Linked DNA regions of Homo sapiens: all the other regions are linked to region 2. The links are contacts of gene promoters, found by promoter capture Hi-C in human tissues and cell types (Jung and others, 2019). All regions are on one chromosome and are shown on one strand. The core of a region is centred on a gene start or on the middle of the fragment in contact, and the rest is flanking DNA. Distances in the headings are between cores, read along the strand shown. Region 1 overlaps DTNA (dystrobrevin alpha). Region 2 holds the start of ZNF24 (zinc finger protein 24). Region 3 overlaps GALNT1 (polypeptide N-acetylgalactosaminyltransferase 1). Region 4 overlaps DTNA (dystrobrevin alpha). Region 5 overlaps LOC105372061 (a long non-coding RNA gene). Region 6 has its middle 53 kb from the start of MAPRE2. Region 7 has its middle 79 kb from the start of MIR187.

What was found. The method cuts DNA at HindIII sites, captures the fragments that hold promoters and counts their contacts. A contact is called where the count stands out against the background at its distance.
Region 1: a contact is called between a fragment that was not itself captured here and the fragment with the promoter of ZNF24 in region 2, in 3 of the 25 tissues and cell types used here (dorsolateral prefrontal cortex, hippocampus and mesenchymal stem cells).
Region 3: a contact is called between a fragment that was not itself captured here and the fragment with the promoter of ZNF24 in region 2, in 2 of the 25 tissues and cell types used here (hippocampus and mesendoderm cells).
Region 4: a contact is called between a fragment that was not itself captured here and the fragment with the promoter of ZNF24 in region 2, in 3 of the 25 tissues and cell types used here (dorsolateral prefrontal cortex, hippocampus and mesenchymal stem cells).
Region 5: a fragment that was not itself captured here is called in contact with the fragment with the promoter of ZNF24 in region 2 in 1 of the 25 tissues and cell types used here (hippocampus).
Region 6: a contact is called between a fragment that was not itself captured here and the fragment with the promoter of ZNF24 in region 2, in 2 of the 25 tissues and cell types used here (dorsolateral prefrontal cortex and lymphoblastoid cells).
Region 7: a fragment that was not itself captured here is called in contact with the fragment with the promoter of ZNF24 in region 2 in 2 of the 25 tissues and cell types used here (lymphoblastoid cells and spleen).

The regions. Positions count from the first base shown.
Region 1 is chr18:34,879,741-34,883,149 of GRCh38, reverse strand. DTNA (dystrobrevin alpha) reads right to left here. Exons shown (of 23, transcript NM_001386795.1): 21 at 949-1,081. Among named protein-coding and RNA genes, the nearest start is that of DTNA-AS1, 110 kb to the right of the region's middle. The HindIII fragment of the contact is 4,098 bases long and covers 1-3,409 here.
Region 2 is chr18:35,342,878-35,346,208 of GRCh38, reverse strand. ZNF24 (zinc finger protein 24) reads left to right here and starts at 1,789. Exons shown (of 4, transcript NM_006965.4): 1 at 1,789-1,849. It overlaps LOC124904283 (a long non-coding RNA gene), which reads right to left and starts at 2,155. Exons shown (of 2, transcript XR_007066337.1): 1 at 1,470-2,155. RefSeq lists a silencer at 1,562-1,731 and an enhancer at 2,412-2,471. The HindIII fragment of the contact is 10,533 bases long and covers 1-2,723 here.
Region 3 is chr18:35,694,415-35,698,056 of GRCh38, reverse strand. All of the region lies in intron 9 of GALNT1 (polypeptide N-acetylgalactosaminyltransferase 1), which reads right to left. It overlaps LOC105372064 (a long non-coding RNA gene), which reads left to right. Exons shown (of 5, transcript XR_935377.3): 3 at 934-1,068; 4 at 1,718-1,841. Among named protein-coding and RNA genes, the nearest start is that of MIR3975, 100 kb to the right of the region's middle. The HindIII fragment of the contact is 6,903 bases long and covers 1-3,642 here.
Region 4 is chr18:34,841,866-34,845,473 of GRCh38, reverse strand. All of the region lies in intron 13 of DTNA (dystrobrevin alpha), which reads right to left. Among named protein-coding and RNA genes, the nearest start is that of DTNA-AS1, 76 kb to the right of the region's middle. The HindIII fragment of the contact is 3,608 bases long and covers 232-3,608 here.
Region 5 is chr18:34,934,028-34,937,811 of GRCh38, reverse strand. All of the region lies in intron 1 of LOC105372061 (a long non-coding RNA gene), which reads left to right. Among named protein-coding and RNA genes, the nearest start is that of MAPRE2, 110 kb to the left of the region's middle. The HindIII fragment of the contact is 3,215 bases long and covers 1-3,002 here.
Region 6 is chr18:34,986,092-34,989,858 of GRCh38, reverse strand. It overlaps a transcript of MAPRE2 not described here. Among named protein-coding and RNA genes, the nearest start is that of MAPRE2, 53 kb to the left of the region's middle. The HindIII fragment of the contact is 7,504 bases long and covers 1-3,767 here.
Region 7 is chr18:35,824,343-35,828,098 of GRCh38, reverse strand. No RefSeq gene overlaps it. Among named protein-coding and RNA genes, the nearest start is that of MIR187, 79 kb to the left of the region's middle. RefSeq lists an enhancer at 1-72. The HindIII fragment of the contact is 3,530 bases long and covers 125-3,654 here.

The DNA.
Region 1 (3,409 bases), core at 343-2,842, 460 kb after region 2:
ACCAGGAAGACAAACAAGGTAGTAGAACGACCTCCATGGGGAAATGCATGGCCTTTAGGATGAGTCGCTGGTTACATTTATTGCCAATTGTATATGTCATGTTCAGTGAATTTTCAGGTGGCTAACATACTCCAGTACATCTGAAAATCTGTCCGTCCATACCTTGATGAACACAGGCCTGCAGTTCCCCCAACATTTCTCCAGGAATTTTGCCATTCTCCTACTTACACTTGGCATGAGGTGGGCAATGAGGAAGACTGAGGGCAAATAATTCAAGGGAAGTGGTGGGTTTATGCTTATTCAATTTCCTCGTGCCCTGTTCTTTGTATCCATTTAAAAATAATTATGAGAAAAAGCATCTTTCTTAATGGGCCTGAAAGAGTCTGGACTGTTAGTTACCTTGTTTTTTTCCAATATAAGAAGGCTGTTTATCACTTTCTAGGGCAGAATTTAAAAGAATACATGGTGAGTGACAGCTATAAGAGTGGGTGCAGTGGCTCACGCCTGTAATCCTAGCACTTTGGGAGGCTGAGGTGGGTGGATCGCGAGGTCAGGAGTTCAAGACTGGCCTGGCCAATATGGTGAAGCCCCTTCTCTACTAAAAAATACAAAAATTAACTGGGCGTGGTGGTGCATGCCCGTAGTCCCAGCTACTCGGGAGGCTGAGGCAGGAGAATCACTTAAATCAGGGAGACGGAGGTTGCAGTGAGCCAAGATCACACCACTGCACTCCAGCCTAGGCAACAGAGTGAAATTCTGTCTTAAAAAAAAAAGAAGTATTTAAAATGTTTACTGTCTAAAAGACACGGATTAAGGAGTGAAATCAGTGTATTTTGAAAAGGGAGGGTGGAAGGAAGAAGGCTCTGATTCTGCAAGTCATGTCAAAGACCCAGCTACCAAGGGGTTGAGGCAGAAGAGGTGGGGTGGGGTGGGCCTGGATCCCTGTACCTGATAAGCTTCATCTTGCAGCTTCTGTTTCAGGTATTCCTCCATCTGGAGCTCATTCTCCAGCTGCCGGACAGAGTCATTTTCATAGTTTTCATCTTCAGGCTGCACATAGGGATCTGCATCCTCCGTAACCCTGAAAATAAACCACAGATGACATGTTAGAGCAAATCTTAAAAGAGAATTACAAGCGGGATTCATGTGTGAGCTGTAGTTTCGTTGGCACCTTTATTTCCCCTTAGTTCTCCAAGTCACTTTCATGTCTTCTTTAGTAATACCTAAAAAAAACTTGGAAACATTTTGGAGGTTTGAAGCGATATATGATCAAGGTATTTTCATACACAATTTTTTTATGGCAGTTGCGATCATTGGTCATTTATCTTTTCCTAGGGTTTACTGGAATGGGTTGGCCCTTTAAATGTTCTATAATTTAAAAAATGGCAAACATCTTTTGAGGGGATACAAAGTTTTCCCAATCTGAGGGCTCTTTTTATTCTTGTTTAAAATAGAACCCAAGATCACTTTCTGTGTGGAGAGTGAGCCCTCTAGTGAAATAATGCTTAAGGACATTTGGTTATAATTTAACCTCTTTTGTGTTACACATACGCACATACATGCACATACACATATGCATGCATACCACATTCATGCCTTATTTTTATAGAATTAAGTCTTAGAATATCAGCTAGTCAATGCCAGGAGGGCTACTAACCCATAACTCTTGACCTTAGCTCTAAATCTGAAAAAAAAAAAAAAAAAAAAAAAAAGCATTTTAATTATCCAATTCCACTATCAAATAAATAGATAAAAATGACCTCATTCCCTAATGTGGGACTCTGTCTCCATCTATTCATCCTAGACTATGCAAAGCTTTTCATGGGGCTGGACATAAACTCACTACCTAAATCATAGGACTAAAAGAGTCTCAGGGTAAAACACAAGTACATGTTTAGACAATAGAAATATTAAATTATTCCCTAAAATGAAATAAGTGGTCAAGAAGAAGTTTCTAGGTTGGAACTTAAATGTCGTTGTTTGCGTTTATTTATAGCTGTACAACATGTTCTGGTTATTTTTGGAGGTTTGGGGCCAGGCTAAATGGGTCTGCCCAGGACTCTGTTAACTTTCCTTCCCTAACTCCTGAGTCACATGTTGGTAGCTGGTACTGCTACTCAGCATACCAGGGCTAGCAGATTAGGGTGGCCTCAATAGTCTTGGATTTTAGAATTAGGACAAGGAAATTCTAGCTAACTGCCATATAAATGCTTAATAATAAAAAGTCAAATAGATATGAATTTACCAGACAAAACAGATGACAACTAATTCACCATTTTGAATAACAAATCCAACAATTCTAGAATACAGAAGAAAGGACAAGAAAGCAAACTATATTAAGCAGCAGCGTACTGCCATGTTAAGTCCCATGATAATGGTTTTGTTTTGATCCTACTCTCTGCTGCTTCATAGCTGACTCTCAGACCACACCTCTTGATAATTCTCCATGATTACTGATTGTTTATTCACTGCTTGGATGGAGAGCCAAACACCAGAAAGGCCTCTGTTTAGTTTCTTCTCTGAGTCTTTAAAATGGCCAGTTTATTTTTATAGACTAGTCTGAAGTACTTTTCATATTAAGCAACATCACCCTTCTGAAGTATTTTTAGCATTCAGAAACTCCCTCCCCCAGCTTTTGGGTCAGCCTTTGCCCACATTTCCCATAACTCCATGAACCATGGTCATTTAATGGGCCACTTTCTTCATTTCTTTTGTTTTTCTCCTTTTTCTCCCAAGTTGGGCTCTGCAGCTCTGTCCCAGCTTTGCCTTTGTTTCTCAGCTTTGGTTTTCTCTGTTGACTAATTTGAGCTGATCCAGGGTCACAGAAAGTCTAGTGGGGACGTTACTGATGCTGCTGGTTTCTGACAAGCTCCAGAACTGGGTGAAAACTTTTGCAAATAAGTCTTTGGAGGGTCAGATTCATACAAATTCAACAAGTCAACCAAACTGGATTTCTTTATAATGAGATTTTATACATGTACTTATTTCAATTCCAAATACTTATGTGATGTTGTTTACACCAATTCTGGACAGAGACCTCTCCAATGTCATGGTATCCTCTAAGTGCAAATACAATAAGTTCAGAAGATAGGATGATTTATCTCCTGAACTAGTCTGTGAGTCCTAAAAGGGTGGCAGCAGTTTTTTAATACTATTTTGTATAGCACTAGCAATGTGCCTTGGGCAAGGCAGGCTCTTGATAGGCACTGGTTGGTTTAGGTTATTGATAACTCTCTGGAAATTGTAAGAGGGGAAATATTACAATGCCGAATTTAAATGTAGCACCCTTCTATATCTCTGGCAGAACAGAAAACTATGTCACCCCTTCTGAAGGTTAAAAAAACCCTAAACAATTATGCTTTTACTTTCTTATTGTCTCCTACAGATTGTTTTGTTACTGAGAAAATGC
Region 2 (3,331 bases), core at 540-3,039:
TAGGAGGCTGAGGCGGGAGGATCACTGAGTCTGGGAGGTTGAAGCTGCAGTGAGCCAAGACTGCACCATTGCCCTACAGCCTGGGTGACAGAGCAAGACCCTGTCTCAAAAACAAAACAAACAATATAATCACAGGAAAAGGGTTTTGTAAAATTTTGCAACATTTTTAACTTCCTCAAGGTTAGGTTTCAGATTTATTATTTTTGTTTTCCAACATTAATTAGATGTAAAAACTCTTAAAACAAAAATGCCTTCAGCTAGCCTTTACAAATCAGATAAGAGGGAAAGGTTGGGAAGAGCAGCCAAGTTGCTTAGGGGCCGTATCCAAGTAGCAGAGTGAAAAGGCTGTACTTCTGAAGCTTCCTGCAATGGAGAGAAGTGTTAGCAGGGGTTGTGAGAAGAGCTCTGGTCGGAATGAAAAGCAGTGGTATACCATCAGCTGCTCGCTCACTTGCTCTCTCATGCACGAATCCAGCGGAGCCTGACGGCACTTTTCAGAGGGCATTTTCTCCAATGAGGCAAAAAGTCAAAGCCTGAGGATCTTGAAATGCTTATGTTAGGCTGGATCTACACTTTTGACCAGTCCTTAAACAACAGGGCTCCTTTGTGTGGTGTCTGATGCCAATCATGTGACCTAGCTAAAGGCAGCAATGTAACCATCCCACAATTCATTTATTTATTCAACAAATATTTATTGAGTTCTCTATTTACCAGGCAGTCAGCTTCCAGGATCTAGGATGGGATACTGTGGTGAGCAAGACAGACAAGGTCCCTGCCCTTAAGGGACTTAAAGACAAAACAAAACAAAAAATAAAACAAGTAAATAAATGAGATCACTTCCATTAATAACAGTGCCATGAAGGGTCATGCGCCATGAAAGGCAGGTGGTGAGGCTGAGGATCTTGGGCCACAATGAGCCGAGGAGCTGAGGTGACTGGGGGCGCCAGGGTCTGGGGGTGCGGGCAGGCAACAGACCACAGGGGACTTACAGGCCATTATAAGGAGTTTTTATGTCATAAATTATTATGACATAAATTGGAGGGCTTTAAATAGGGGAGTGAAGTGGTCTGATTTGTAATTTTAAATGATCGCGTCAGCAGTTGTTTTATGGTATAAAATGCCCAGCTTTAAGATGACCATGCATTCTACAAATTCACCGTGACATCACTGCCAAAACTCTTAACCTGTCTTATCTAGTTTTCCTGACAGATAAATAGGTCGGAATAAAGCTCCATGACATAACTAGTGGGAGCCAAAGATTTGAATCACGTCTTGGTTTCAAATCTTGCTACCCACAAATGAGTTGTGAGCTCTTGTCAGGTTATTTACTGTATTTGTGCCTCAACTATCTCAGCTGTGAAATGGGGATAATGAAAGTTCCTACATCATTTATTTGTGGAAAAAAAAATGACATGTAAAGCACGACGAGAGCGCCTGGCACAATGTAGTAAGCTTTCACAAACACTCACTTTCATTCCTTCTTGCAGGGGATTACTGAGAGGATCCACAAGATAATGCACGTGAAAGGGCTTGCGAAATTGTAAGGACTATCTTAATGGTAGAGTCCTCTTTATGTTTTCTTTTAAACGGTCCAGAGGACGCTGGGCTGTTCGAGGAGAGGCGCGAGGCCAAGCGCAGCCTCAATGCGGTCATTGTCGTGGGGCCGCCCCTCCCCCGCCCGGGGCGCTTCTCCATGGCAACGTGGGCTTTACCTCTCCCCGCCTCCTCAGGCCCGCAGACCGGAAGCAGCCCGCGCCGGGGGCTTCTGGGAAAAGGCTTGTGAACGGCGTTTCTGCGTCTGCCGTGGACAGCGAAGCTGCTGCGGTTCCTGAGCCGGAGGTTTGCGCCGGTGTGCGGGGAACGTTATGAGAGGGAGGGGGGACACCGGGCTAGGGTCTGCGGACCTCTTAGCAGGAGCCGGCGGGGAAGCCTGTCCGGGACCTTCCTCAGCTTCCCGGGAGGCGCGGGGAACAGGCCGCGGTCTCCGCGCCTAGCAGTTGTGGGGCGGGGAGGGGTAGGCGGCAGGCCTGCTTGGGTCTTCGGCATTTGCAGAGAGCTCTCTAACCCCCTGTGTCCTCCGAGACCCTCACCTTCCCCCTCCCCCACCGGCCGGTTTTGTTCTATTTCGAGGCCCTGGCGTCTCGCGGAGGGTTCTGGGAGTCGTGATGGGAGGGGGTGGTAGTGGGACGAGACTTGCGCGGGGCTTCTGGGATTTGTAGTCTCACCGGCCGCAGGCGGAAGTGCCGTGGTTCCGACGCTGTTGTCACAGGGTGGCCTTTGGTCATCTGAAATCCGCGGTCCTGAGTGCTGGGAAGAGGGGCTAGAGGACGTCGGGCCGGGGCCGGGGCCGGGGCCGGGATACACAGCAGGTCTATGCAGCAGTAAGGTGGGCGATCCACCTGGGACGAGGTACCCTGCCCAAACATTGTCGGGACCGTGGGCCTTCCCTCCATTTCCCACAAGCGGTATGCTCTACAGCATAAAAGGAAGAGAAAATTATGTAGAAATACTTGCACCGTTGATAAGCAGGGTCTTGGAATAGGAACGAATGAATGTTGGCTAGACCTTATGTATAAGGCCACCACACTCCAGGGTATTTAATTAAACCAGTATGTATTACTTGTCTGATAAGGCCTTTTCTGATTCTAGTCTTCATCTTGCTTGGGTTACAATAAGTTTTTTTAAGTTGTTATTGTTCAGATTTTGGGCCCTGAATAAATAAATAGGCTGAATGGCTCATTGCTAGTATGTGTCGTAAACAACAGCACGGGCATGATCGTGCAAATAATAAAGGTCCAGAAGCAGTATACAGTTTCACTGAAGGTAGAAGCTGGGGAAACTGTGAGTCCTCCAGTGTAAGGACAAGACACTGGACCACTGCAGGAAGTCAAGGTGCTTATGCGAGTGCCTTTTCTTAATAGAAGTTTCTGTGATTAATGCCTATCATTATAAATATAAATGTACGTATGGTGTGGTGGAAGACTGAATATTTACGTATTATGTGCAAGATAATTTTTCAAAATTATGTGATGTTTTTCACATATGATCTTTTCAATATTATGTGATCTGCTACTCAGCAAGTGAACATTTTTTCACATATAAGTCCAAGGAGTTCTTAAACACCTTAAAAATATTTTTTAAATGGTAAAGAAAATTTTTTTAAGCACATAATAATAAAGCGAACCTTCCTTTTGAGTTGACTTGTGTGTGTCAGGAAACACCAATCCTGAATTGGAAATAATGCGTTCCAGGGTCAGGCACATTTAGAAAGCACTGAAGTAGTCTGGTTCTTACTTGGATTCTTTTGATTATTGACATAGGGTTTGTCGTC
Region 3 (3,642 bases), core at 1,013-3,512, 350 kb before region 2:
AATAAACCCAAGTTCTCACACCATTGGCCACCCTATGAAAGTCACGTGGAAAGTGCCCAAGTTTGGTTTGTACTTTCTGAAACAGTGTAAATCCTAGGAGATCTAAGTTATTTCAAGGGGAAAGATCAGTGGGTTAATGGTCCTCTTCATAGGAATTGTTTATGGCTGATTAACTCATCTTTCCTTACGTGGCCAGGCACGCCACTGAATCAAGCCAAAACAATCTAGAAACGATGTACAAACTGAGAGTATCATAAAGGGTGAGGAGCTGTTAGAAACAAACTTTTCTACTTGAATCACAGCAGTGTCTGACTTACAGTGTGTGAATATCCACACTTTCAAAGTGTCTGTAGGGGTGAGAGTTTAGATTGTGGGGACATGCAGATGGTGCTTCATTCCTGACTAGCCATGAGACCTTGGGCAGGTTATTTACTCTAAGACTGTGATTCCAAAAACCACAATCTGAAGAACAGCATCTTGCAAGGTGCCCCAATAAAAAAGGTGTTTTATGATCAGATATGTTTGGGAAATACTAGTTAAATAAATTTAAATAGGTTTCTTTGTTGAAGGACTTCTCAAAGCCTTTTAATATATCATGACTATTGGTAGGACCGGGGAATGGTGGTACAGATGGATGTAAGATGTAAAATAGTATTGCCCAAACATATTTGACCTCAAAATCTACCTCCTTCTCCCCAGCACTTCGCCTTTCTAATTGAGCACCTTGGGGACATCAGATATCAATATTATTTACAACACAGAATTAAAAACACTGCTATAAGAACCCTTTCTCATTGGTAAAGCAGGGATAAATCTCTCTCTCTCTCAGGTTTGTTAAGTGCTCTAAATGAGATAATACATACAGAGGCTCTAGCAGGGACAGATACATAGCAGGCACACAGTAACCGTTGGTTTTCTTTCCTTTATCCACAGACCCAGCAACTCTTCAACCCCCCTTTGGAAGTAGCAACTTAGCTGTACCTGACTGCCACTTTAAAACTACTATTTTTGACATTAGGAATTGAAAATAATTGTGAATGCACCCATTCTTGGAAAACCAGGCAAGAGGTTAGAGCTTAAGTTTCTTTGTTTCTACTATTAGTCTCCTCCAGAATCAGTATCTCCATTAGGGTGGACAATGTAAGAGCTTTGTTAAACCATTTTTATAATCTAGCATTAGTGAATCTGGATTCACTTTTCTACTCTCTGCTGCAAGGGAAATACTGGTTAGATTTGAGAAAGAATACGGACATTAGGGGTTAACAGCACAGGCTCTCAAACCAGATGGTTGTGAGTTTAGCCGTGTTTTTTAAACCATTTATTTGTGTCTCAGTTTACTTATCTGTGAAGTGGAAATAACAGCACAATCCTATAGTGTTGTGCTTTAATATTCATCAAGCATTCAGATTTGTGCTTGACATAAAGTACATGCTCAGTAAATGTTAGGATTATTAGATCTGCCTGGAAAAGCAATTGGTCAGCCCCTAAAACTGACTAAACCAGTAAAGGTCTAGATTGTTTACTTTTTGTTGTTTAGAATACTCAGCTCCTGAGTTAACAACTATCAGATACCACAATGAAACACATTTGTTCAGGTCCTACAGGAACTACGAACGTCAGCGTTAGCTGAAGCCAGATGCCCTAAATTATATCTATTACCCTAGTCATATTTACATTTTCTGATTTCCCTTTCTGCTGAAAAATCCTATGATTTCAGGTTTCCCTGGACCCTTGAAGCATGAGAAGAGATCTATGAAAGGCTAAATTACTGTTGCTAGCAAAGGAAGGCTCACATGGGTGAAGCTGTGATCAGAAGCATAAGATCCCTGGGCTGCACTATGGTGGGTACTCTTAAGAATGACCTCCAATCTAGAAATGACACTTTTAACCTGTAGGATGTGGCCTGGTATTAAGGGCGTACAAGGCTTAAGGCCAGCTGTTAAGTTAATAAGGCGATAACAAGCAGGCCACAGAGGGTAAACGCTGCGACTTGCCCAGAAGCCAGCTGGCAAGAGGCAGGTAAGACGCAAGCTTGCCTTGGCAGTCATCTACCATGGAGCAGACAAGTGTTTCTTTGTCACACGCCCGAACTCTGGCCCAGCTAACAATGCCTAGGCATTGTCCAAAATTGGGTCAGCTCAAAAAAAACAAAACAAAAACAAAAAACTCCTCATTTTTGGTTCTAAAGACAAGCTGCAGAGTGACTGCTAGAAATCTTTCCCTGGCGCACCACTCACCCTGGGCCTTCTTTGACCAGTACGAGGTCACAGCAAAGGAAAACACATTCCCATTAATGAGGCATCAGTGAGAATGAAAGGCTCAAGAAACTCAATGTAGCCCTCACTTGTTTGAAAACAAATTCCTTAAATCACAACAAGGTTCAGAGGTAGGGAGCTCAAGTCAATCCTGAAGTAGCCTTAGTAACTGTTAGGATAAATGCGTAAGTCTGTGCCTGCCCTGGCACTGAAGAAAACACCAGGCCAGATGGCTTCACCAACTCTCCACCATCTGGCTTCCTTCAGTGATCTACTTGCTTTCCCTTATCTTACATTTCTATTTTACATCCTTTTCTCTTTCCCCAATTCCCCCTCACCAACACCTTCTTCACTCTCAGCCCATAATCTTGTGTTCAACTGAGGAAACAAGCCACCAGAAGAGAAGGTCCTCACACTTCCACCACAAACTGCCAGTTTCCACCTCCAAACCTACAGCTGCCCTGCACTTGTTCCCATTCCTCTACCTTCCTCCCCATGATAAGAGATGACCTCTCTTCTTCCCACCCCCACCCAACACCCTCTACTTGTGTACAGATTTCACCTCCTATCCACCCAAATACATGACACCCATAACAACAGATCCCTTCTTTCTTTTTATTCTGGTGCAGAAACACATAACATAAAATTTACCATCTAAACTGTTTTCAAGTGTACAGTTTAGTAGTGTTAAGTATATTCAGGCTGTTGTGAAACAAATCTCCAGAACTTTTTCATCTTGCAAATGTGAAACTCTATGCCCATGAAGTAACTCTTCTTTAGGCCCTTCCCTCAGCCCTGGTAACCACCATTCTACTTTCTGTTTCTATGAGTTTGACTATTCTAGCTGCCTTATATAAGGAGAATCATACAGCATTTCTCTTTTGGTGACTGTCGTATTATGCTTAACATAAGGTCCTCAAGGTTCATCCATGTTGTAGCATGTATCAGAATTTCCTTCCTTTTTAAGACTGAAAAATATTCCATTGTACGTTGTATCACGATTTATAGCAGTCACTCTGTAGCTTGTCTTTAGAACCAAGAAGGAGGAGTTTTTTACTTTGAACTGACCCAATTTTGGACAATGCCTAAGCATTGCTAGCTGGGCCAGAATGAACGGACACGTGGAGTGCTTCTACTTCTTGGCTATTGTGAATAGTGCTGTTATAAACATGTAAGTAAAAGTAACTCTTCAGACCCTGCGTTCATTTCCTTTGGATACATACCCTGAGGTGGAATTGCTGGATAATATCGTAGTTCTCTTTTTTGAGCATTTTTTGAGAAACCTCCATACTATTTTTAAATAGCAGTTGTACCATTTTACATTCACACCAACAATGCACAAGGGTTCCAATTTTTCAGTATCCTTGCCAACATGTGTCATTCTCTG
Region 4 (3,608 bases), core at 786-3,285, 500 kb after region 2:
TAAATAATTTTAAAAATCTTGATAAAAACTTCTGATAAAAGTATCTTTTAAAATGAATGACTAGCTAGTGTAAGTAATATGAAGGTTATATTTTTAAAAAGCCTCCTGGAAATGTAAGACGTGAAGATATAGGATTCTGTATAGCAAGTGATAACTCATACGTCCATGCCTTTCCTCCCCCAGCACTGAGTGAATGAGGGCCTGTGTGATAATATTACCCCTTTGTGCACATGAACAATTTATGGGTCCACATAATGCCATTTCAGTATGTTCAAATTATACAAGGGTGAAGGAGGCATTCTTCTGATAAATTCCTCTATTTCAAGACTTCAATTACAAATAGTTGAAAATGAATGATCAACAATCCCTAAATCATTAAAATAAATACCAATTCCAACACTTTCTCCAGCCCTAGCTATTCATTTCAGGACTTTATAATCAGTAATCTTGCTACAAGACTATGATGAATTAACAAGTGATTGCAGTGTTGACGGCATTTCAGAGCAGGAAAATCCATTATTTTGAAAGCCCTCCACATTCTACCCGAAATGCATGGCCAGTGTCTGTTGCCAGTGATTTCAAAATGGCATTCCAGGAAACTCAAGTGGCCCCAGCTGAGCTAGGGCTTATGAAAGTGTGATTTAGCAAAGATTTTTGGGAACTCACGGTTTGTTCACATTCTTTTGATTTTTTTCTGGGCCTGTTCTGCTTTCTAAGTTAGGGTAGTCAACCAGAAAATACTGTGATCCAAAGCATATAGCATATATAAATGCAAAAGCAAAAGCATATATAAATGCTTCTATATTTTCTTTTCATATTTTTTCTACTACTCTGGCTAGTGATGGGAATTTTATCACTAGAAATTAATTTAGAAGGCCATCGAGTTTCATGTACTACTCTTCTATTAAGAGGATTAGTTAACTCAAATGGAAGATTGCTTTATTAGATTATTCTCTATCTTTGGCAGTTGGTTTAGAGCAAAATGCTAAGGGAATAGAGCACTTTTTTTTGGCATTTAGAAGTCAGTGAGCTCAAGAGAGTCAGGGTAGAAAGGAACAAAGTGACACTGGGGACCGAGAAATGGTTTTACAGTACTGAAGAATGGGGAAAGAAACTAACTCTCAAAGCTTAGTGTAGTGGCCCTTTGTGAGTGGTTTGGAATAACAACAAAAAAAGACAGGAAATCATGAAATGGCAATCTTCATGGATAACAATAAGAATTTACCACAATAATGGCTTCCTTAAAGGAGACCTTTAAACTCCTTTATTGAGACCCTGACTTCAACAACCCCCTATGTTACAGTTGAGGTCATGCATTCTATCTTCTAAAAACTCTCAGACTCCTCCATTTCCTTCTACTCCAACTGTTCCTGATGTGACAGTCTTTAGATTTATATTTCCAGGATTCTAAGGAAATATCTTTCTCAGAAGTCCAGTTCTATAATTGAAGTTCCTAAAAATTTTACTAAACAAAAGGAGTCGTGTTAACAGGAAATGAAAACTCATATAAAAGAGACACTGTCAGTAAGTGTAGGTAACTCTTCTTTTTTCTTTCAACAGATTATAATTTCTTTTTTCTTTCAACAGATTGCAATAAACTCACATTTTTCAAAATCAACAAAATGTACTAAAAAGAGTCAGTCAAATCTTGACCTACACATTAAAAATATTAAAGGCATACAATTCAGTGGATTCAGTGGGGAAGTGGGTTATGGATTCAATTGTGTCTCCCCCAGTATTCATATGCTAAAGCATATGAATACCCTCAGTACCTTAGAATGTGACTATATTTGGAGATAGGGCCTTTAATTACAGTTAAATGAGGTCATAGTGTGGGGCCCTAATCTCATAGGACTGCTGTTCTTTTAAGGAAAGGAAGAGACACTAGGGTAGAGAAAAAAGGTTATTTGCGGACACAGCAGGAAGGTGTCCATCTGCAAGTCAAGGACAGGAGAAACCAACCCTGCTGGCACCTTAGTCTTGGACTTCCAGCCTCCAGAACAGTGAGAAAATAAATTTCTGTTGTTCAAGCCATCAAGTCTATGGCATTTTGCTTTGGCATTCTTAGCAAACTAATACAAAGATGAAGAATCTAGGGGGGCATTAAAATTAAAAAAAAATTCTTGCCCAATTATCACTTTAAGTTTTTAAAAAAATTTTAGAATGCCCTATTAGTTGCTCTGTTCACATCAGTGAATTGCTGGTGCTTATCTTTGCCCATGTCTACCACTACACAAAGCTTAATACTTTAATTTTTCATCTATTTTATACTCCTATACTAAATGTTCAATTTAAGTGCTACTCTATAATAGTGATTTTTTTAAATAGTAAAAATTCTAATTTTGCTAGTAAAGTTTCTGACTACTCCTAACAACTTTGTTTAGGGGAAGATGGAATTTTTTTAGCTACTGCACTACTGATATTCTACAATATCAACAGATGTTTATTGAGCACCTACTATGTGCCTGGCACTGTGCTAGATGTCAGAGATAAGGTGGTGAACAAGTTGGAGAGGGTCCCTGCCCCACTGAAGATACAGTAAATAGTAAGCCAACCAACCAGCCACCAACCAACCAACTAACCAGTCAGCCAACCAACCAACCAATGAGCTAACCAGCCAAACAGCTAACCAACTAACCAACCAAACAATGACTGCAGCTGATAAGAAGAAAATAAAAATAGTATGCTATAATAGAGACTAATATAGAGGACCTACTGGGGGAGGTGTCTTTAATCTAAGATTGGAAGCTAGACAAGCAAGTTCATGTGCATATAGTAGGGGTGAAATGGGAAAGAATGTTCTAGACAGAGGGGAGAACTAGTATTGGAGTCTTGAGGCAGGAAAGAGCTTGGTTCGTTGGAGGAATTGATCAAAAATTGACATGACTAAATGTAGTGATTGAATGGGAGAACCCCATGAGATCTGAGGCTGAGAAAGGAGTAGGCAAGGGCTAAGTCACATGCAGGTTTGTACACCATGGTGAGGGGTCTGGGTTGTAAACTAGGTCCAATAGGAATCTATTAAAGAGTTCTAAGCATGCAAGCTAATAAAAATTTAGACCTCATAAATGAAATTCTGAAATAGGCATTCTTAGATGTCTTTTTTCCCAAAGCATAAAATATTGTGGAGCAATTTTAAACTAGATGGATTATTAATCCACTTAACAAGAAATCTATTGACAACACAAATGTACACTTTCTTGTACTTGAGAAAAATATAAGCAGAACAATTTTAACCTAGTCATATGACATCAGGAGTCTAATCAAGTGACAATGTTAGAGGTAGAAGTTCTGGGCTGGTTTCAAATCATTTGGTTGGTCTACTACAGACCTTGGTATAAACTAGCAAGCCCAGGAATTTGACAAGCTTTGGGGGAGGGTAGTAAAAGCCCACACTGTATCACATTTCAGACTCCTTCTCCTGCAATGAGGAAGGTGCATACAAATTATTAAGGCTTTTAAAACTTCATTGAATTAGGAAGGAAGCAGAAATTCTCCCTTGAGCTGCAGTTTATTTATTTGACTTATCTGACAGAACCAGCAATGACATAAGTGTTTCTTTAGCAGCAAACTATTACAAATAAGTCAGTTTCCCAGTGTGTTAAGTA
Region 5 (3,784 bases), core at 146-2,645, 410 kb after region 2:
GAGGGAAAATAAAGACCTAACAAAAAATACAGACTAGAATGCATATGAACCAGTAAGATTAACATTAATAATTCTAACTGATGGAGGAAGACCAGAAATTGTAAAAGGATGTGGGGTCCAAGATCCAGAAGCAGGTACCTTTCCATTTTAGGCTTGAGGGAAAGAGATAAGGGAATAATCAGAAGAAGAAAATTTGAGGGGATGGAAGGGAATGGCAGAGTTGAAGACCAAATTTAAGGAGTTAAGGGCATCTACTAAAGATGATGTGGGGGGTTAATTAGGGACCCAAAAAGGATGTCAGCATTTTGGAATAGTCACTGAGAGGTACTAAGGCTAAGAAATGAAATGGTACTTAAAATGAAAGAACAAGCAACACAATTATAATTTATGACTTTTTTTTTGTTAAGATACATAGAAAAATGAGGTTTATAAGCAGATTGTATGGAATCTATTGTATAGATTGTTTAAACAGGCAGAATACTAACAAAATAATATTGTTTTCCCTAAGCCCTTGGCCAGGCTTCTAAATTGGATGTGTGGTGGCAGAACTATCATTTCCAGGCAAAACGTATATGTTCTTGATACTAAAATAAATTGTTTACGTGTTTTTCAAGTGCTAGTCCTTATGTTGTATATTTGTAGACATCCATTTAGTAGTAATTGGCAATTATTTATTGAACATCTACTAGATTACAGAAGCCAGAAATACATAAGAAATTAAACCTAGCCTCAGCCATCAAGAATCTTAGCTAAGGGTATATACTCCCAAATGAAGAGACAATTATGATTCAGTGTGGTGAGTGCTGCAGTGGGATAGACATGGGATACGTGGGAACAGCTGGGAAGCCTCAGACCCAGTCCTGGAGGTTTCATGAACGAGATAACCGGACTGAGATAATTGGGCTACAAACAGCTGGCTGGGAGGGATTCTAGGTGGTACAAAGTCCCAGAGATACAAACCACATAAAATTGCATACCAGAATTAATATCAAAGTATCTATTCTATTCTATTTTTGTATTACATTGTCAAAACCAGTGGCTGGCCTGAGTGCTCTTATAATTTTTCTGTGTAAAGTTTTATGTGACAATTATCATAATCATCATCAAAATTTTAATGTCAATATTTCTATAAATTGCATTTATTATTTATTCTTTTAAACTATTACATGTTCTGCCACTTTGATTATAATCAGAATATATTTAAAATTTGAATGGCCATAAAATAAAATAAATTGTTATCAATTTATAAACACGCTAAGCAGAAATAAAAATAGACATTTGTCTATCTATCAAACTATTTTAGAAACTCCACAAAGATGATTTAAGAACACGTTTTGTAACATGGAAAGGATTTTAGGTGAATTTTTTACTTAATATCTTTATTAACTAGCTTTTCTAAAATAGTTATAAATAACCCTCAAGCATTTTTTATAAGCCAATCTTTTTCTCCCAAGCAAAGTTGTGAGAAAATGTTCAACTAATAAGCCTTAAAGTTAAGGATTCTGGCAAAGTTTGACATTATAAACACATATATTTTTTGAAGAATAGAGAATTTTTATAAATATTCATTCTGGATGAATACTCTGCTTGGAAGTGGTTTGTATTTCAAATAAAATAAACTTTACATTGATTTATCTGTCTTTTGTATATGGAATAGGAGATATAAGTGATTTCAGATGTGTTGGGAGTTCTTTTTATTATTCAATTGGCTTTTATTAAAACACTATCATATAATACTTCCTTGCAACTAGAGTCTTTTTTGCTTTAGGACAATTTAAAATTACATAAATATTTCTTTTTTTCACACACAGACTCATTGAAAACAGTTTGGCACTAATTAGAGAAATTCATGTAAGTTATGTGGTCATATATTGCATATTAGCCATTTTCTCTGACCTGTCAATTGGAAGAATGTTGCTATAAAAATATGGAGAACAGTATTTTAAATAAATGGTCAAACTGCATTTGGCACTTATCAGAGCTGGCTAAGGGATCTTGCATACTATTAGATGTATTTGAAAGTGTATTATTGGTTTAAGGAATACCACTGTGGGCTTTTTTTTTCTTCCCTAAATAAGTCATTTGAATTCCTATAACTTTTTTTGCATAAGAGTGAGTGTTGTACTTCATAAGAAATGTGTTATTTATGTCAGTATATTTCCATGATGCTGCTGTGGTTTCAATTTTATATTGACATAACATAGAGTCATGAATGGGCATTTGGGATTTTTAAAAAATCATTGAATTGATATATTTGAACTGAAATGCTGTCTATTTTTCTGTTTGCTGTTGGAAATAGATGCAGAATGTTTGCATTATTAATAGAGGGCTTTGGGTTAGTAGTTTCATGCAAGTGAATGGGATGTACAATTAATGACAGAAATTAAATTATTTTAAAAATAGTTTCAGTAGAGGAGAGAGACTAAGTTATTAACTTGACATTTTAGATATGAATTATTAAGTTACTGAATATGAAAACGTTATATCACAGAGGTATAGCCAAGGGAAAAATCACATTTGCTTTAGACTAAATGTAGCAGAAAATGAGAACCGGGAATATTCCCTCTCGCCATATCTATGATATACACATATGATAGATTTCCATGTGAATACCCAGATGTTGAAGAAATTCTCAGTAGTTTTTCATACATCATAGTGGACAGTTGTTACAACTATTAACATTATACTGTATCAGCAAATTGTGGACTGCTATTCAGGATAAGCTGTGCTTATACACAGTTCTCACATAGCTAAAGCAAGTGAGTGCAAAAGATACAAGGACATGCTGGGTGCGGTGGCTCACGCCTGTAATCCCAGCACTTTGAGAGGCCAAGGCGGGCAGATCACGAGGTCAGGAGATCGAGACCATCCTGGCTAACACGTTGAAACCCCGTCTCTACTAAAAATACAAAAAAACAATTAGCCAGGCGTGGTGGAGGGCACCTGTAGTCCCAGCTACTCGGGAGGCTGAGGCAGGAGAATGGTGTGGACCTGGGAGGCGCAGCTTGCAGTGAGCCCAGACGGCGCCACTACTGCACTCCAGCCTGGGTGACGGAGCGAGACTCTGCCTCAAAAGAAAAAAAGAAAGATACAAGGACATGCAGGAAGTCATTCTATATATATATCTGAAAAGAAGCAAATCATTTTTAAATGTTGATACTTCACTAAGGCAAGCCGTGCATTTGATTATTGTACACTAGTCTGTTCCAATAGCATATTGAAAAACTGCTGGCCTAGAGGACTCTGGCTATGGAGAACACCCATGCATTATGAGTCATCAAGATTTCTTTATTATCAGTGGAAAGTGGCATTACAAGACCTGAATTAATTGCAACATACAGATTTTATTGGATTGAGCTGTTCACCAAGTAGCACTATTGATTAAATTCTAAGATAAATGCTTTGATGAAATCTTGAAATCAATAAATCTATTTGCATTATGACTTTAAATCATTTGTTATTTTAAATGGATGTGATGGTGAGCCATCTGGGAATATAATTTGATGAATTATAGATAAAAATAATGATTGGACTTTATTTATATCAACTGGGTTTTTTTTGGATCTCCAGTTGGGTGCCATTTCTAGAGAGTTTTGAGAATTAGGACTTGGACACATTTGAATAAATATTATATTCCAGGCATTGTGCTTGGGAATGATGTATGTCTTTGTTAAAAATAAAAGGATTGTTTTCCTTTGGCAATTAAGGTGCTGTTTAAAAGCTGTAAAGATGTAGTTACCCACAATGACATCATTCTAAGGCCTGGAAAATGGAAAAGGTTAAG
Region 6 (3,767 bases), core at 563-3,062, 360 kb after region 2:
CAGATTACCGGGGGATCCTCCTAAAGTGCAGATTCTGAATGAGAATGTCTGCAGAAGACCCTGAGGTTCTGCATTTATGAGATGCTCCCAGGTGATGCTGATGCCACTGGTCAATGGACCACAACTTAAAAAAAAAAAGACAGAGAGAGAGGGAATGTCTCACTCTGCTTCCCAAGCTGTAGTGCAGTAGCGTGATCATAGCTCCCTGCTGCCTTGAACACCCAGGTTCAAGTGATCCTCCTGCCTCAGCCTTCCAAGCATCTGGAACTATAAGTACGGCACCATGCCTGGCAATTTTTTCAAAATTTTTTGGTAAACATAGGGTCTCACTATGTTGCCCAGGCTGGTCTTGAACTTCTAACCTCAATAAATCCTCTTGCCTGAGCCTCCCAAAATGCTGGCATTATAGGCATGAGCCACCACACACAGGTGAACCACACATTTTGCATACCAAGAACCTGAGACAAGACAAAGTCCAAGCTTGAATCAACTAGGACATCCAGGATAGAAGACCGAGAGAAGGCACAGGCAAAGACCCCAAAGCTAGAGACATTAAGCTGGATAAAGGGAACATTACAAATGCTAAGGGAACATTTTATGTAAGACATTGTTGAATGTAAATACAGACAAGAAGAACTTTACACAATAATAAAAATAGTTTTTGTAATAGTTGCATGAGGGTGGTTAACATTAGGAGTACTTCCTCCCACTCCCCTCCTTCCTTTTTTGGTTTGGGCTCTCACTAATGAACTTATGTTTATTAAAACAACAAAAGGATAAATAGATTTCTCCTTTGTGTGCTAGTAGTGGAAATTCTGCCCTGGGATGTTTTAAGAAAATGACTGTGCAGGCTCTTCCAATTTGGGGTTGTATGATTGGATAAGATAAAAAGCTACTTAATAACTAATCACAATTATGTAATAATGTGGTAATAATCATTTCCTGAGAGAGAGTGCAGGCAAGATTATACAGAATTCTAGAAGAAAAAAACAAAAGAAAAGAAAACCTGCCTTTTGATTTCACAGAGCAATGTCTGCTGAGGAATCCATTGCTTGGAGCCCTGGAGCACATCACTGTTCCCCAGCCATGAGGAGAACTTTAAGGTTCTGAGGAGCAGAAGGGAGTGTGTGGCTGACGTGGACATATATAGCCAGCAGCTACATGTAACATACATGCTCTGTGGCTTCATTCCCAGTGTGTAGATCACCCTTCTTCAAAATCAGGCATGTTGCAGGAAACCACATCCTATAATAGTCAACTGCAGCCCTATATGAAGCAGATCATTAAACAAGTCTTAGGACATCACTGTACGTCCTACAGTCATAAAGATGTACACAGATGTTATCTGATCTTGTAACTCTTGTCAGACTTCGCTTTCTCTATTTGACAGATGAAAAAACTCAATTTGAAGGATGTTGATGAAGGATGTTAATAACATCTCTAAAGTCACCCAGTTAGCAGCAGAACCAGTTTTAAAACTCAAGCTACTTGGCATTCTTGCTCCAATTTCAGAATTCATTCTATGATACAATACTATAATTTCTAAAAGACAGGAAAGCAGACATAAAGAAGTGAGGTTTTAGAACTCAAAAAGAATTATCTATGGACTCTTTTTGTTACTTTTAAAAACTTTAAATTTCACAAGAATAGTTTGGAATCTCCCATAGACCCAACTGGATCTCCTTTTGTCCAGTTTTAGAGGAATCTGGGGATACAAGTATATGAATATGTGGTATTGGTATATAAATACTGTTCTGTAAGTTACAATAATAAAATGAAAAACAAAAGAGATTTGCTGGTGATCTGAGTGCCAGGAATTATGATCCACCTAATTTACAGGTTAATCAAGGAAAATCCAGAATTATATATTAGCCTGTTCATTTATTCCATGAGGTCTTTGAAAAAGTTGACTTATAGGCCAGGTGCGGTGGCTCATGCCTGTAATCCCAACACTTTGGGAGGCCGAGGTGGGTGGATTGTTTGTTCCCAGGAGTTCGAGACCAGCCTGGGCAACATGGTGAAACCCCGTCTCTACAAAAAATACAAAAATTAGCTGGGCATGGCAGCATGCAGCTATAGTCCCAGATACTCAAGAGGCTGAGGTGGGAGGATCACTTGAGCCTGGGAGGTGGAGGCTGCAGTGAATGGTGATTGTACCACTGCACTCCAGCCTGGGCAACAGAGAGAGACCCTGTCTCAAAAAATAATATTTTTTCACATTGATTCATAATATTATAAATGGCCATTTAGGAATTTTATATGAATAAAATGGAAATACAATGATTTCATACCTGGAAGATATTTTATCTATCTTCTAGGGGGTTAAAAGAGACAGCTTATTAAGGATTATTCAACAAGGTATTAAACAAAAATACCAATTTAATGTGTGGAAAAAGTGAATCCTCTAGTTCAGGGCTTCTCAAACTTCAACACGCATGTGATTCACCTGTGTTCATTTGTTAACGTGAAGATTGTGATTGGGGAAGTCTGGAATGGAGTCTCAAATTCTGCATTTTAAGACACTCCTAGGTGATGCTGATGCCTCATCTAGGTAGCAAGGCATCATTGCAATCACTTGGAATCTCACTTTGATTAGGAACATACTGTTGACATCGTTGATGGATTTCTCATGTTAGCCCTACTTGAACTAACAATATACCTATTGAAGTATTTATTCTATTAAAAAATTGGTGAAAGAATAGAAAGTACTTTAAAATATCTTACAAAATTAAAAACATTGCTAATTTTCTAGTTCTTGTTTTACTTTTTATTTCCTCTCAATCTAGTAAATTGTGCAAAAAAACTTCAGTTAATGGCTTTTTTTCCTTGAGTAAGTGAAGGCAGCTAAGACATTTTTAATTCATTATCTCATAAATATAACCTCAGATCTTTTACAGACCAGGAAAGCTAGTCATTTTGAAATCTATTGTATCATAAAAGTAGGATTGCTGAATTTAGCAAAAATAAAAATTAAAAACCAAATAACAGAAAAATGAAATGCTCAGTTAATTCAAATTCAGATACACCAAAACAAATCTTATCTAAAATCAAATTTAACTGGTTATCCTGCATTTTACCTGGCAACTCTACAGAAAAGCATACCTCCAAATTTATCTTGAAGTGCTGAAGGTCAGGTGCTGGGATGGAGAATTAACAGACCCACTGACCGAGTTGCCTAAACATTTCAACTGTAGAGGGAATTGCTTCTGGATTTGCCAATACTACATCACACACTTGGTTATTACTGCTGCTAATTTGTGGAAGCTCCTTTTAGGGGATCTGTGCCCAGGAGACCACACTTTTAAAAAAATCACAATAGAGGGCAAGCTGGAAGTGAAACTACCGAAGAGCCTTACTTATATCAATAGCGTCTTTCCCGGGAAGAACCAGGTGGAGCAAAACCAGCAAGGTCTTTCTTGTAAGGTCTCTCTTTTTTTCCACTTTATGGAGAGCTGAAGCTGCTCAGTGGGAGAGCTAAGATAGTAGTTTCTTGGTAAGAATCATGAAAGGTTTTTCTTCTTCATATCAAATGTTGTTAAATTGATCAGATTTAAGATGATCTTTGAAAGAAGGAAGGAACGTTCAAGGTGGTTTCAGGCCCTGTCATCTCTTACCAGTTTTTGAAAGCCTTTACCAGCTTTTAAAGGAGCAAGCTAATCCTCTCATTTCATTTTTATGTATGATGTGCAGTAAATAGTTTCAGGTACTTCAGCAAAACAAAGGAATCTACTCATTTCTAGGTACCTTTTCTTGTGTATTTACCTACC
Region 7 (3,756 bases), core at 640-3,139, 480 kb before region 2:
CAGTTGAAGGGTTGGTGGTTTCAACCAGTTTGAACTGGACAAGAGCTGACTTTAAGTTCCTGAAAAACAACTTAGGCAATCATTACCTTTGTGACCCATAGTCAGATAAGTTATCTATAGTGAGGCTGAAAGGAGTCTTTAAACAAAACAAAACAAACCCAAAACAAACAAAAAAACAGCTAAAAGCAAGAAAAGCAGGTAAAAGTCTGAAGAGCCTAGTCAGGTTTGCCCTTGGCTTCATGCCCAGTGAAATGAATAAATCTCTGAGAGCTGCCTGTAAATTCAGGCTTCAATACCATTATCTGCTGAAACAAAGCAAGAAGAGTGTGGGGGAGGTGGATTATGGGAAGGTGACTAGAAAAAGCTTGGTCAACAAGGATAAGGTTTGTTATGCAAATTTAAGTCAGTGCTTTCTCCATCAGTAAGAGTCTCTAGTGGCTTAGTCATCCTTCTTTCCTGGTACAGAGAGGAGGGCACCATTACAAATGGAGATTTCCTTTACAGATGTAAATTTCCCTTACAAAAGGGTAACTCCCACTCTGTTTTCAGTGCTTCTCCTGTGACTGCAGTTTCTTAAAATTATTCTTATGACAAAAAGGCCTGTCTTGGGGTGACATATTCTGGTTCTCTGCAGTCATATTTGGAGATGTCATATTCTGGTCTCCTACAGCTATCAATACCTGCTGGTCCTTGCTGTATTCAAAGTTGAGCCCAATCTCTCATCTCTATTGAAATAATCTTATTGTAATAGTCTTGAATAAATTCTTCCTTATTTTAATAAATGTAGAAACAATTTTTTCTTTAATACTTCCACAGGGTACCACTCTGCCTGCCAGTATTTGGTATTGCTGAGGGACTGGGGTTTATGGAAACATGTCCAGCAGGCACACTAGGGTGGTGAATGATGGGGCTATTGCCTTGGTCAGCATAGTTTCCCCTTCATCCCCTTTTTGTAGTACCAGCCCCTTCTCATTGGCCATGGGACAGGCACAGGATTCAGGTCTGGGCTATTTCCTGGATTTAAGCTGGTCTACATGCTCTTGGCCAGATAATATGCAGACCATGGAAGAAATAAGGTTACTTCTGTTGTGGGTGCCAAGATGGGAAGATGTTAAATTGAAGCTTTGCCCCCACTCCCCAGTGGAGGAATCCCTCCTGATGTTGGCCAAAATGGAACTAAATGCAGAGGGCATCAGGGCAAAAGAAGGAAGGGTCCTGAACTTATCCTGGAGATTCCAGCTGGCTTGGGGCCCTCCCAAAGCAGGGATATTCCCTATGGGCCTGAGCCAGTCTTAGTTGAGATGTCTGCCACTAGCAGATGAGAGTCCTGAGTGCTGCACGGTATGGTGCAGTTACCCCCTTGTACATTCCTGGAGCAACCCTCCCACACCTACCCCACAGCCCCCTGGAGTGAATGTCACCAGTGCTGGTTCCCAGTTCCTCTCTCTGGGGCAGCAGTACACAGCATGTCTGAGCTGGGGCCTGGCTTTCCTTTTCTCATTACTGCTGCTCTCCAAAGTCTGTACAGTACAATACATTAAGGCAGTGTTTTTCAACTTTGAGCAAGGGTACAGACCCCCTTCAGACTCCCTGTGTGAATTTAAATTATTTTTTATAGCAAATGCCAACATAAAACACATGCTCATGGCTATAGAAAACCAAAATAAAATTTCAGCCATAAAATCAACGAAACTCAAGGACAATAATTTAATGACAGATTATGTTTTGCTAACACCACTGGTGACAGTGAGTTTATTATTAGAAAATGTTCTCTAATTGGTTCTGAATTTTCATAGGGAATAAATGATGGGAGGAAACCTTGAGCTGATTTCTGTTTTCCTGCCTCCTAACATTTCCATTTCATTAAGACTGTTCAAAGGGAGGCAAGTAATTCTGGTTCTGAGAGGAGAGGTGACTCTTCAGCTTTCCCCTTGAGGTTCTGAGAGATTTGTTTGGAAACCCTAGACTGTGGGATATTTGGGTGCTCTTAGGTCCCTGTTTAGGTCTCTTGTCTTCAGCTGTCTGGAAGAGACGTCACATGACCCTAGACTCTTTTTTTTTTCTTTTTGAGACTGAGTCTTGCTCTGTCACCCAGGCTGGAGTGCAGTGGCGTGATCTCGGCTCACTGAAACCTCTGCTTCCTGGATTCAAGCAATTCTCATGGCTCAGCCTCCCGAGTAGCTGGGACCACAGGCACGTACCACTGAGCCGGGCTAATTTTTGTATTTTTAGTAGAGACAGGGTTTTGCCATGTTGGCCAGGCTGGTCTAGAACTCCTGGCCTCAAGTGATTCACCCACCTCAGCCTCCCAAAGTGCTGGGATTACAGGCGTAAGCCCCCACACTTGGCCACTCTAGACTCTTAAAATATAATGCCCGTGTCTCTGGGTTTTGGTCCTAGGCAGGTGTAAATATCCTAGGCAGCAGAGGCGGAGCTGTTTTAAATCACAGTTGGGCAGCTTGGGCAACATAGAAAGACCCTGTCTCTACCAAAAAATAAAAAATAAAAAGAATAGCCAGGCATAGTGTCGCACACCTATAATCCCAGCTACTTGTGAGGCTGAGGTGGGAGGATTGCTTGAACCCAGGAGGTCGATGCTGCAGTGAGCCGTGATCGTGCCACTGCACTTCAGCCTGGGTGACAGAGTGAGACCTTATCTCAAAAAAATAAATAAATAAATAAATAAATAAAAATGTCACATTTGGGGAGGAACAGGGCTCTTGTAAGAGTCAAAAGCCCTCAGCATTTGAAAAGGATAATGGAGGAATATGAACACATTGAAAAAAATGTGAAAAATGGCAAAAAAGAACAATGTCTTCTTTCAGGATCATTTGAGAAATGGTATGTTGAAAAGAAATGGAGGCTGGGGGTAAGAAAGCTGGGTGTAGAGAAGGGATATGTCAGGATCCCAAATCCCCAGCTTGGGTTCCTCTGTCCCCAGCCACCAATCCCTAGACTCCTCAGCTCCCAGACCCTGGTCTCTAGCTCCAAGCATCAGTCTCCAGCACCCCTATTCCATTCTATTTTCCTGAGTATTTTATCCTATTATAAAATGCTTAAGCTTTATTCATCACCCAATGTACTTCTTTGTCATACAGAATATGTATAATAATTGAAGTGAACACTTTAACCATTTTCCTGTGACATAATGCCTGCATCAATTTTTTGAAAGCTAATTATTGAAAGTAACATTTTGGAAGTGCCTTTCTTAACTTTTCTATGTTTAATAACCGCTTTAAAAAGTCATAATACATAAAATGACATATCATTTTAATAAAATACATAATATGAATAATTTTTAATTCAATCGAGAAGAAATATTTTAATACTTGGCATATTACAGACAAGGGAAATTTTTTAAAGTTCTACATTTAAATTATTTGATGATATATTTCTTTGTGATTTTTGGCATAAAATTGGAAGGAGTTCAAAGAATTGAATGAATAGCTATAACACATCTCCTCCCATTCCCATCTACTTATTATGTGACTAAGGATACTCCATACTTACATTGATGAAAATGAACAAGAGGAACAGAATTTTCACTGAACTCTATCTCATTTTAGTAATAAGTATTATCCATGCATGACTACATGAATGGATTTCTAAAACACCAGCAAAGATGGAGGGCTGGATGGGGCTGACTCAGGTGGGCCCTCTTGGCAGGGTAAGATCAGACTTGCCCTGGAGCCTGAGGCACATTTCCCAGATGCAGCTACAAGGGGGGTCCCCTAAGTGGTCCCTGAGACATGGTGC